Linked DNA regions of Homo sapiens: region 2 is linked to region 1. The links are contacts of gene promoters, found by promoter capture Hi-C in blood cells and fetal thymus (Javierre and others, 2016). All regions are on one chromosome and are shown on one strand. The core of a region is centred on a gene start or on the middle of the fragment in contact, and the rest is flanking DNA. Distances in the headings are between cores, read along the strand shown. Region 1 holds the start of TIMP4 (TIMP metallopeptidase inhibitor 4). Region 2 has its middle 27 kb from the start of TSEN2.

Region 1 (5,884 bases), core at 1,643-4,142:
CAAGCAGGTGGCTTGCATTCTGCTTACTGAAAGAGGTCTGGTTGGGTGACACTCATGGCTTTAGAGGTGGCAAATCATCTTCTCTTTGGAAAGAATTCATCAGTGACAGAGGGAGAATAGCAGTTCACAAATGGGCGCTCTGAAAACTGCCCTTCTTGGTTCAACCCTGAAGCACAGCAGGCCTCTCTGCCTCACCTTGCCCATGCCTGAGTGAGCGTGGCCAATCTTCACCACCACAGGGAACGTGGGCAGTGTCAGCTGAAATCAGAAGAGAAATGAATAAACTGTCAGAGTGTGCCCATCTCTCCGTGGAATCCTACACATATTTTTCTTGGGAATACCCTTGGGAGGGTTCTTTAAAGAACTAGTCCAATCTACTTGCTTTACAGATTAAAAAACTGAGACCCATGGAATGACAGTGAGTTCCCAGGGTCACAGAGCATATTAGTGGCAGTGCTACAAGAACCCTGTACTCTTATTTGGTATACCCTACATCTTTAAAATGCACTGTCAATTTTCTCTGCATTAGACAAAACCTGGGCAGGACTGGCCCTCAGACAAAGAGAATTAAAAAAAGAAAGTATCTCTGAAAGAGTGAACTTTACTATATGTAGATGTACTTTAATAAACCTGTATTTTTATTTTAAAAACACATCTTTGGCATCTTGATGTCCCTGTCAGCATGTACCCTCTTGGTACCTACAACCTTCAAAGGCCCAGCTTTCCTGTAATGATCCTGGTTGTTTTCTCCCTCTTTCACACTCTTCACTGCTCACCAATACCCCAATCTCACCACCAAACAAGGCTTTGCATGTGAAGGCCCATTTCTTCCCAGCTTGGGGTTTGAAAGAGAGCCGGTAGAAGAATTCAGTATGTTTATAAATGCAGAGAGATCCTTAGGGGAGCGAACTCTACACTGAGGTAGCCATACTTTAACAGAGGAGCAACAAAACCTTAAAAGAAGGATTATCCTCTAAGGGCAAGATTTCAAGCTGCTACAAAATGGTGATGTAAGAAGTAATATTGTGGAGTGGAAGGAGCACTGGGCTAGATGTCAGGAGACGAGTACTCTAGTCCTCTTCTGCCACGGACTTTCTACAAGTCACTGTATCTCACTGGGCCTCAGCCTTCACATCTGTCCAATGAAGAGATCAGATGGGATGCTTTCTGAGCTCCCTTCAAATAGTACATCAGCCTCTATCTTGGTCTGAACATTGTATGAAGAACCAGCCTGGATGCTAACCCGGGCATTTCATCTTTCAGTCAGACTCAGCTCTCTTTCAATTCCCTTCTTTTCAAATATCACTAACACCATCAAAATGAAAAGGTATCCTTTGAAGGAAATAATGTTGACCCTGATGAAAAGTCAGACTCCTATGGGAACTAAGATTTGAACAGATACTGGGGGTATCTGGCCTGAGGATCTCAGCATTCCTGGTTGAGGCCAGCCAAGGATGGGAAGAAGAACTTCAAAGGGCTTTAGAAATCACGTAGTTCAACTCTACTTTATGAAGAAAAAACTGAGGCCCAGAGAGGCAAAAGTCACAAAGCTACAGTGACAGTCAGAATTGGAACCCAGCCTCCCACTATCCAGTCCAGCACCATGTGGAAACATCCCACAGCAATAATCCCATGGAGATTTGGGATTTGGAGGCTTGCAACACTGTGCCCAAACAGCAGACAAGGCTCTGGTCACAGTCACCCCCAAGTCCCCTGCTTCTTTGTTTTTTCTTTTACTTTTTTTTTTTTTTTTTTTTTTTTGAGACGGAGTCTCACTCTGTCGCCCAGACTGGAGTGCAGTGGCACAGTCTCAGCTCACTTCAACCTCCGCCTCCTGGGTTCAAGCCATTCTCTTGCCTCAGCCTCCTGAGTACCTGGGACTACAGGTGTAGGCCACCACGCCCGGCTAACTTTTGTATTTTTAGTAGGGACGGAGTTTCATCATGATGGCTAGGGTGATCTCGAACTCCTGACCTCAGGTGATCAACCCGCCTTGGCTTCCCAAAGTGCTGAGATTACAGGCGTGAGCCACCACGCCCAGCCTGCTTCTTTGTTTTCTAAGCTGTCCCACCTTCTAGAACATGACAGAGTCTCCAGTGAGAAGGGACATGCAATAAAAATCAATGTAGTCTAGGGCCTCGAGAGGGCTTTGAGGTCCAAGGTTTGCCCTAAGTGATGGGACACTTTGTGTTTTGTACACCAAGAGCGCTGTCTCCAGCTATCTGGAGAGTCTGAGGCTCTGGGAGTGAGAAAGGGTTTCTAAAGCACTGGCTGCTTCTTTGACATCTCTCCCCACCCCCCAGGCAACAGAGCCAAGACACACACACCCCAACTTTCTCTGTCCTGTTCTATTACTGTTTGCTGTTGCTTTGGAGCCTCATAAATAGGGCATTGAAAGCACTTCCTGCAGCTGAAAGAAGCCCTGAGTAGCTCGTCTCATTCCCAGCGTGCAGCTCAGCAAGGGGTCCGTCCTTCTCTGTCACTGTCTCTTTTGCCTGTTGTAATTCTGTCTGCCTCTCTGGGACTCTGCCTGTCTCACTCTTTCTGTCTGTGCCTCTCCTCACTCTTGTTCTTTCTGCCTGAATCACAGCCCTCAGTTTTTCTGTCCTCATGCATTTGTCTTTGTGGCTCTTTCCGTCTTTCTGCCCTTGACACCATCCCCTCTCCCAGTGCTTCCCCTCTGCTTCCAGATCGCTTCATGACTTAGGCAGGGAAACAGAGGTCAGGGCCTCCTTCCAGGCTTCCCTCTGCATCTTACTGAGTATGCAGGTCGGAAGAGCCTCGGGTCCTGCCTCCGCGGGTGGCCTAGAGCCAAAGGAAGGCGGAGCCCGTCGGGGCGGGATTGGCCCTTAGGGCCACCTCATAAAGCCTGGGGCGAGGGGCACAACGGCCTTGGGAAGGAGCCCTGCTGGGGCCGTCCAGTCCCCCAGACCTCACAGGCTCAGTCGCGGATCTGCAGTGTCATGCCTGGGAGCCCTCGGCCCGCGCCAAGCTGGGTGCTGTTGCTGCGGCTGCTGGCGTTGCTGCGGCCCCCGGGGCTGGGTGAGGCATGCAGCTGCGCCCCGGCGCACCCTCAGCAGCACATCTGCCACTCGGCACTTGGTGAGTCCGAGGTCCGCGAGGTCCACAGCAGGGGGTGGTTGTGGGGGATTAGTATCTGGCCAGCAGTACACCAGGAGTCCAGAGGAAAAGGGAGGAGCTCAAATTCTTACCGGTTGTCTCTTGCTGAGGCTGATGGGTGGAGAAGGACCAGGCGCCATAGCAACCTTGCAAGCCCAGAACCTGACTGATTCATAAGGAAATGAAGATTTCATCAGGGACTTCCATAGCGACCTCCCTCACTCCGGCCATACTGCAATTATGGAGTGTCATTACACAAGGTGTCACCGGAGCTATCTGATGATTATTCTGAACTACTAGACTGGGGACAGAAAGGGGAGGGGAGAGGGCTTGCATTGTAACTACCCGTGTCTGTCCAGGCCTATAACTGAGGTTGCCACCAAGCCCCTATGGCAACACACACGTTCTGTCCTTTCTCTTCCCTCTGCCTGGAATGCCCTCCCTCACACCCTTAAATTCCTGGCAGACTCCTACTCATCCTTCAAGGGCTAACTTAGGTCTCTCCCCTTCTCTGCAGGCTCCCGGGCTCCTTGGTGCCGCCTCAGCATCTCTAACCGTCTTAGCGCTCCTACTATGCTGTGCTGTTGTTCTTTACACGTGTGCACTCCACTAGATCAAGAGCTCGGCAGGATGGGGACCCTGTCTTAATCACATCTATGGGCCTAGTGCCTAGTGCAAGGCCAGGCACAGAGGAAGAACATCATCAACAGTTTTTGGTTATTAATGCTCAAATGGCAAGAGATGCAATACCTCAGTGCAGGGTCAGAACATTTATGAATTCAATAAACATTTACTAATATCAACTGTAGGCGGGATGAGAGGCCTTGACCACAGCAATAGATAAACTTCACACCGACTGCCCTGAAGGGGCTCCTCCTCCCTTCTCTACTCTGACTCCTACCCTGTGCCCCACTGCACAAACGGCTATGGAGAACTAGAGCTCTCCAGACTAACTGGTTCAAAAGGCAGAAACAGCTTAGCGGTTATAGGACCTAATAAGCCTGAGGGGTTTGGAACTTCCAGTGACTGCAGGGGAGGTGTTTCCAGGTCCCCCTTCTCACACATCACGTTGCTCACAACCCAGCCACACCAAAACCAAGAACTGCCCTATAGACTTCTTCATGGACCCTGGATCATCCAGACCTCAGGTGTATTGCCCCCACCAGCTGCTGAAGGTTCCCTCTTTTCTCTTCCTATGCAGTGATTCGGGCCAAAATCTCCAGTGAGAAGGTAGTTCCGGCCAGTGCAGACCCTGCTGACACTGAAAAAATGCTCCGGTATGAAATCAAACAGATAAAGGTACATGGGGGCAGGCTGGGATGTGTAGCCCCTAAGGCTGATGGAGAAAGTGGAGTCTGTGTTCTGGGAGGGCTGGTAGCTTTCAGGTGGCCTGGCTCAGTAATCCTTGGGTCTAGATACTGAAGTGGAACTGGATGAGATTTGGAGGCAGAGCCCATAGAATCCCAGGGATATTGCCAGGGAGGGCCTCAGCATCCATCTGGTCCCACAGCTGCTGGTGTATGGTGCCACTACAGGTACCTACTGGAATAAACCAAGGTTTAGGTGTTTTTTGTTGTTGTTGTTTTGTTTTAAGAGAGAAAATAACCCAGTAGGGACATCTGAGGACACAAAATCCTCAACTAGACTTTTGCTTACATTTTTAGGCTGAGAAGTGAGAGGTTTTTGTCTGTTAATATATACAGTACACTCACTGACCCAATATTGCCTTTTTTTGTAATTGCCTGTCAGATGTTCAAAGGGTTTGAGAAAGTCAAGGATGTTCAGTATATCTATACGCCTTTTGACTCTTCCCTCTGTGGTGTGAAACTAGAAGCCAACAGCCAGAAGCAGTATCTCTTGACTGGTAAGTTAAAAGACCAACAACTGGCCTTAATATAATAGATTCTGCCCTAGGGGAGGTAGTGAGAAAGGAGCCAGGGTCTTCCTTGGGCAGTAGGCTGAGCCAGGTGGCATTTTCTTGGGCATAAAACAGAGCTGTGTTAGTGACAGACAACCTCTGGGTTAGGAGGAGCCTTGTAACCTCCCTTTAAATGTAAGAGTTCTTAGTACAGTGACCCTGGCCACCGTTTCACTATTTTAAGGACAGGCTGCTCACCCAGTGTAGGGCAGCTGCTTCCGTTTTTCAAATAGTTTAAATTAGTATAAGATTTTTGGCAACTTGAGTCGAAGTCTCCTCTCTAAAACTGCTCCTTGCAGGTCAACTCTGCCTTTTGCACAGGACTTAACAGGAGCTTGAGTCTAACATAGTTCTGTCTCTGTGAACTTGGGCCCAGGCAGGATTCCTCCATACTGAATTGGCTGGGATAGAACAGTTAAAGAATCACACAAAAATATGACTCCATAAATGAATGCAACATTAAATTATTTTGGAGTTCAGAGAACGGAACTATTTGGTAGTTGTGAACTATCAGGGAAGCTTCATTGTGTAGGTGGGATCTAAACTGGCCTGAAAACATAAAACAATATTTAGAAAGAAAGCAAGGGAAAGAAAAAGCACAGCAGTGGGGGAGGGAACAGGTGAAGGGATTCCACGATCTATCCACACATTCAGCAATGAATGACCACTTAGTCACTGCCATGCCTTGGCCAGGAGAGTGGAGATTCAGTAACAAGGCACAGTCCTTAAAAGAGTTCACTGTCCAGACATGGCTCTTGATGAGTCATAGGCACTGGAGGCTACAATGATAAGGGCTTCCTAGCTCTGAGGATGTGGAATTGTACAGAACTGAGGAGCTCCTGGATG
Region 2 (5,884 bases), core at 1,538-4,037, 300 kb before region 1:
TGTTTCATAAAACATTGTTTTTTTTTTACAGCTTTATTGAGGTATAATTTACATACCATAAAATTCACCCATTGTAAGTGTACAACTCAAGGATTTTTTTAGAAAATATATGGAGTTGTGCAACCATCACCACAATTCAGTTTCAGAACATTTCCAGCACCCTACAAAGTTCTCTCATGCCCGTCTGCAGTCACTCTTTGCTTGAAGCATTCTAGTTTTTAGTTATGTATTTGATACAGGGTCTCACTCTGTCTCCTAGGCTAGAGTGCAGTGGCACAATCACGTCTCATTGCAGCCTTGACTTCCCAGGCTGAAGTAATCCTCCCACTTCAGCCTCCTGAATAGCTGGGACTACAGGCATGCACCACCACACCGGCTAATTTTTTTTCTATTTTGTGGAGACGAGGGTCTCACTATGTTGCCTAAGCTGGTCTTGAACTCCTGGCCTCAAGTGATCCACCCACCTCAGCCTCCCAAACTGCTGGGATTACAGGCATGAGCCACTGCACCTGGCCTACATTCTAGTTTTTAAAAAAGAACAGAATTTGAGAACCAGTGACCGATTCTAAACCACTTCTTCTACAGATGGGGAAACTGAGGGCCAGAGAGGAGAAGGGGCCTGCTGAGGACAGCGGTGGGTCCATAGCGTTGCTGAGATTCACCCCAGAGCAACCTGATTTCAAAGCCCAGTTTCCTCCCACTCATGGGAAGCAGTTCTGAGGTGGAGTTAAGAGTCCTCAAATCACACAGTGGGGGTTCCAATCATGGCTTTACCATTTATAAGCTGTGTGGCTGTGGGCAAAATGTTTAACCTGTCTGGGCCTCAGTTTCTTCATCGGCAAGTGTGGGAAGCTTAGTCTCTGCCCCGGGGGTTGCTGTGTGGATTGTGTGAGATCACAGGTGTAAGATGCATACGTAGCACAGTGCGTGGCACGCAGTAAGCATTCAGGGCAAGTTGGCTAATAATGATCATTTCACCACATCACCCTCTCCCTATTTGTCCTCAGAAATCTGGAAGTGGAAAAGACAGTGATTAAACAAAGCCCTGAGTAGACATGGGTGTACAGAGGCAGCTTTCTAAGAACCTGGTGAAATACCCCACCCTGGGCATCATCACCCCGTGTGGCGAATGGAGCAACTGCTGGGGACTTGCTCAAGTAGCCTCCGACCCCGCAGGGCTGTTCCTTCCTCCCAGTTTCAGGATTTCCCAACAGGTCCCCAACAGACGCATTTCATCAGCCTCAGGGGAGCCTGGCTCCCTTCCCGCCCCGGCCCAGAGGCGCCTGATGGGATGGAAGCTGGTTTTATGCTTCTGGATCCCCAAGAATGATAGGGCCCCACCCTTCTGCCCTCCCCAGCAGCGTCTCTCTGCCATCAGTGAAGCAGTTGAGCTTGATGGAGATGGGCAGCGCACCCAGGAAGAAGGCAGAGGACTTAGCCCAATGTTACCTGCTGTGTATGTGTTATCTTCGTCAGACCTGCCCATCATGCCTGCTTGACATTAGAGGAAATTAAAGGTCAGAGAAAGGGGGTGATATGCCCAAGTAAGGAGTTCCAAAAACGTAACAGTCTGAGGTAGACCAAGAGATCAGAAACAAGAGACCAGAGGTGGGATCAGGTCTAGGTAATGTGGCTCCCAGGAAGCAGAGTGACTTTTTTTTTAAGCACACATACATTAGACATAATTTAGACACGTTATAAAGAGCTCTGCGTTTGCAATGAAGTAAATATGACTCTGAAGGACTGTCTAGTTTGCTAGGCTGTGCTAATGATTAGAGAGCCTGCTCGATGAGTAGCTACTTACCAAGCTCCTCCTGACTACAGGGGATCGAGATTACAAGAGGTAAAATAACACCCCTAATTCCAAGAGCTTCCCAGGCTATGGTGTGGTTGGACAAAGTCCTACAATAATCTAAGTTTGACTGTGATGAGGATCAGAATCACAGGACTATGGGAGAACTAAGGAGGGAGTCAGGGAGCATCTGGCATTGAAGGGTGAATTCACTGTTGACAGCTCAACAAGGCTTTGTGGCCCTGTGTAGCTGGAACTCATGGGTAGGAAGGGCAGAGGCTGGAAAGGCTGGCTGATGTCAGATTGTGAGGGTCTTGAATGATGGGCCATTTTAACTTTATCATGTAGGTCATAGGGAGCCACTGAAGGTGTTTGAGCAAGGGAATGACACAACCAGAGGGCTCTTTAGGAAGACTGATCTGATGGCTGTTACACTTGGAGTCAACAGGAAAAATAAGAGTGTTCTTTAGGCCCCTTCCTTTTTAAAATTTATTTATTTGTTTATTTATTTTTTGAGATGGAGTCTCGCTCTGTTGCCCAGGCTGGGGTGCAGTGGCGCAATCTCAGCTCACTGCAACCTCCGCTTCCATGTTCAAGCAATTCTCCTGCCTTAGCCTCCCAAGTAGCTGGGATTACGGGCATGCACCACCACGCCCAGTTAATTTTTGTATTTTTAGTAGAGATGGCGTTTCACCATGTTGGCCTCCCTTGATCTGCCTGCCTTGGCCTCCCAAAGTACTGGTATTACGGGTGTGAGCCACCACGCCCAGTCAATGTATTTATTTTTTTGAGACAAGATCTTACTCTGTTGCCCAGGCTGGAGTGCAGTGGTGCAATTATAGCTCACTGTAACCTTGAACTCCTGGGCTCATGCAATCCTTCTGCCTCAGCCTTTCAAATAGCTAGGACCACAAACCTGTTCCACCACACTCAGCTAATTTTAAAAATTTTTTTGTAGAGATGAGATCTCACTATGTTGCCCAGGCTGATCTCGAACTCCTGGACTCAAGCAACCCTCCTGCCTTGGCCTCCCAAAGTGCTGCAATGACAGGCATGAGCCACTGTGCCTGGCCTGGGCCCTTTCCTTAGGCTCCATGACTGAATGAAAGAGCAAACATGATGAATTGAACACCTACTATGTGTTAGGCACTTGCTGAATTTAGAAATAAATAAATGTCTTGTGTTAATGCGGTGATTACTCAGTCACCAGAGAGCAGATGATAATTTGGGGAATGGGCAGTACTGCTAAAACCCAACACCAAGGAGAGGGGCAATCTCCAGCAAAGAAAGACACAGAAGAACCACAGGATGGTCAGGAAAACTCGTTCAATAGCCTGGAGGCTGCTCTACAGCCACCCTCAGAGTTCACAGTGACGGCGCTGGCAGTGAAAAAGTCACTGATAGTCTGGGTGCTTTGCTTGCCAATGCAGGGAACCACTTATTTTATCATGAACGTGAATAAATATGCAATGAGCACAAACAAAAACAGTGACAGGTGCAGCCCCTCCCTCTGGGTCCTCCTGGGCTATTGGGGATAGCTTGAATGATGCTCCAGTGAAACCAGATGAAGTGGGTGAAGCTGAAGGTGGACGGTGGGCCACACAGAGTGGCCTTCTCAGTGCTCCTGCCTCACCTTTGATTAAAGGTGGGCCATGGGGCTGTGGCCTTTAATCCAAGACCAGATACTCTGAGACCCACCACCTCTGTATTGCCTGGGCTCAGGCCACCATGCACAGGTGTTGCTGCCACTAACCAGAAAAATGGCTGTCAGTCTTGGGCTTCCAGTCACTGCAGCCACAGAAGGGGAACCTCCGTGTTGTGCTGCTGGAGATAAGGTTTGGGGGGCTGATGTCCACTGTCCAACTCCATGACTCTCAGTCGAGATGCATTCCTGCCAAGCCTCCAGCTGCTTTGTCCTGGATACCACAAAGGCAGATGCAGGCCCTGAGCCCACCTTGCTCAAGGCACGTGCCCAAAGGCCACCTGATCCCAGCTCAGGCACCAGTGGCTCCAGTTACTCCCTTCCAGAAAACCTAAGGTCCTAAGAGTTCAAAAGAGGGCGAGGCCATAGAAGGCCAGAATGACCGTGGAAGTGAACCAAGAAAGACGAAGAGAAGAGCTTAAATGAAGTAGGACAGAAAATATTGAGAAGGGGAATAGAAAACAGTGACAAAAGCTGCAATTGCCTTTTTGTTTAGGGTAGGTGTATGCTCTTGGCAGGATAATTCGTTGGCCTATTAATTTCTGCCTTGTTCTTGTGAACATACGAGAGACCCAAGAAAGAGGCCAAGGCCCAAGAAAAATCAACTTTCCTCCAGAGAATGTCATACCCCTGAAATCCTGTGCTCCCAGAGGTGGTGGAGCTGACTATTCTGGAGGAAGAGGGGCTCAAGGGCTAGACAGAATAGAAATCAGGGGGCTGTGTCCATGGAGACTGGTGGAGGCCTGGGAGGCGGTCTGGAGCTGAGCCGCCGATGAACCTGCCGGCTTGGAGGCCCATGGCCTGGGGACCTCGGTCAGGGCCTCCTCCCTCTCTGGCTTGACCTTCAGGGACAGAACACCCAGGAAGCACTGCAGACGTAGCCATGAGAGAAGGAACACCGCAGACCCCCTCCAGCACCTTTGCAGATTGCCCCCACTCTGAAAACTGACTTAACTGATCTAGAAGAAAAATACATTTATCTTCAACTGTTCAGTGGAACAATTTTGTACCCTGTTATAAAGGCATAGAGACGTCGATTGAAAAACAAATCACCACCAAATATTAGTAGTGGCATTTGTGTCTGTGTTGTCCAAAGTCTGTACTTTGTATATAATGGACAGGAATAATTTTTGTCACAAAAATTTTTAAGAGGATGAAGCAGGTTTCCAAACAGCATTTCGGTTACAAATTATGTAAATGCCTGTATGCACTTGGACAAAAAGCTTGAGAGATGTTAACGGCACTTGTCTCTCGGTCGCCAGCTTGCAGTGGGTTCTTGACTTCTTATTTTCATTTTGAAATGAATATCTGAAATGAATTCACTTGAAACTAACAGAGAATTTCATTCTCTATTTGACTATAGTTTTTTTCTATAATAAGATGAATTACATGGAAAAGAAAAAAATAAATGGAACATTTTTGAAAGGGCGAGTAAGGAATGGCTCCCTCCCTACCCTCATAGCCCCTCCTGGACACAGAAGAAGGAAGGACATTGGGGTGGGTAGCTGGTCTAAGTAGAGTCTCGCAGGTGACAGTGAGCCTGGGTTGAGTTGAGGACCATCTGCACAGGTGCCTGCAGTGTGCAATAAGTTCGGCTGGGTAGGGAGGGTGGGACCAGATTTCAAAGCCTGTTCATCAAAATCTTTTTCCTCTCAGTGTGAGCATTTGCATCAAACTTTTGTGAAAGTGCCCGTATCTACCCTTGTGAGGCAGACAGCCCTGAACCCCATAACTGGATGGGGGGGAGCCTCTCGTGCATCATTCAACATGAACCTTGGTTACAATTACTCATTCAACAGGCATTTACTGGGTCCCAACTATGCTAGGCTCTGGGATGCAGGGATGATTGTGGTGGAGCTGGTGGAAGGGGCACAGGCTTCTTCACACAGACCTGGGTAAGAGGCCCAGTTCCACCTCTTCACAGCTGGCAAGGCTTTGGCGAGTTACTTAATCTCTCTGAGCTTCAGTTCATTTCTCTGTAACAATGATGAGACTACAACTTCCCCTGCAGGGGGCTGTCACCAGGGTTAAATGGGATAATCACATAGGCAAAGCCCCTAGTGTGGAGATGGACTGGCATATCACGGAAGCTCAGTAGGGGTCCTGCTCCTGTGTCCTTCTCCCCTGGGTCTCCTGAAACCTCCTGGCCTTCGAAGCCAGAGGGGAGAGGCAGATATGAAACAGAATCTTTACACAATGGTCACGATGATGAGCAATATGAATGAGTAATTTTGTGCTCAGAGCCTGAACAGCATTTCATTCTCAGAACAACTCTGGGAGCAGGGGTCATCATTCCTATTTACAGAAAAGAATACTTGGGGTGAAAGAGGCCAGGCACTTTGTCCAAGGCCACACAGCTAGAAAGTGGCAGAGGTGGGACTCCCTTCCAG

Evidence for each region. Contacts are between HindIII fragments. The CHiCAGO score rates a contact against its expected background, and 5 or more counts as called.
Region 2: a contact is called between a fragment that was not itself captured here and the fragment with the promoter of TIMP4 in region 1, in 6 of 17 cell types (monocytes, M1 macrophages, endothelial precursors and 3 more). The highest score is 7.3, in monocytes.

What each region holds. Positions count from the first base shown.
Region 1 is chr3:12,155,920-12,161,803 of GRCh38, reverse strand. TIMP4 (TIMP metallopeptidase inhibitor 4) reads left to right here and starts at 2,892. Exons shown (of 5, transcript NM_003256.4): 1 at 2,892-3,102; 2 at 4,322-4,419; 3 at 4,870-4,984. The coding sequence starts at 2,964. SYN2 (synapsin II) reads right to left here. Exons shown (of 13, transcript NM_133625.6): 6 at 196-258. The HindIII fragment of the contact is 8,121 bases long and covers 1-5,559 here.
Region 2 is chr3:12,454,360-12,460,243 of GRCh38, reverse strand. No RefSeq gene overlaps it. Among named protein-coding and RNA genes, the nearest start is that of TSEN2, 27 kb to the left of the region's middle. The HindIII fragment of the contact is 3,865 bases long and covers 855-4,719 here.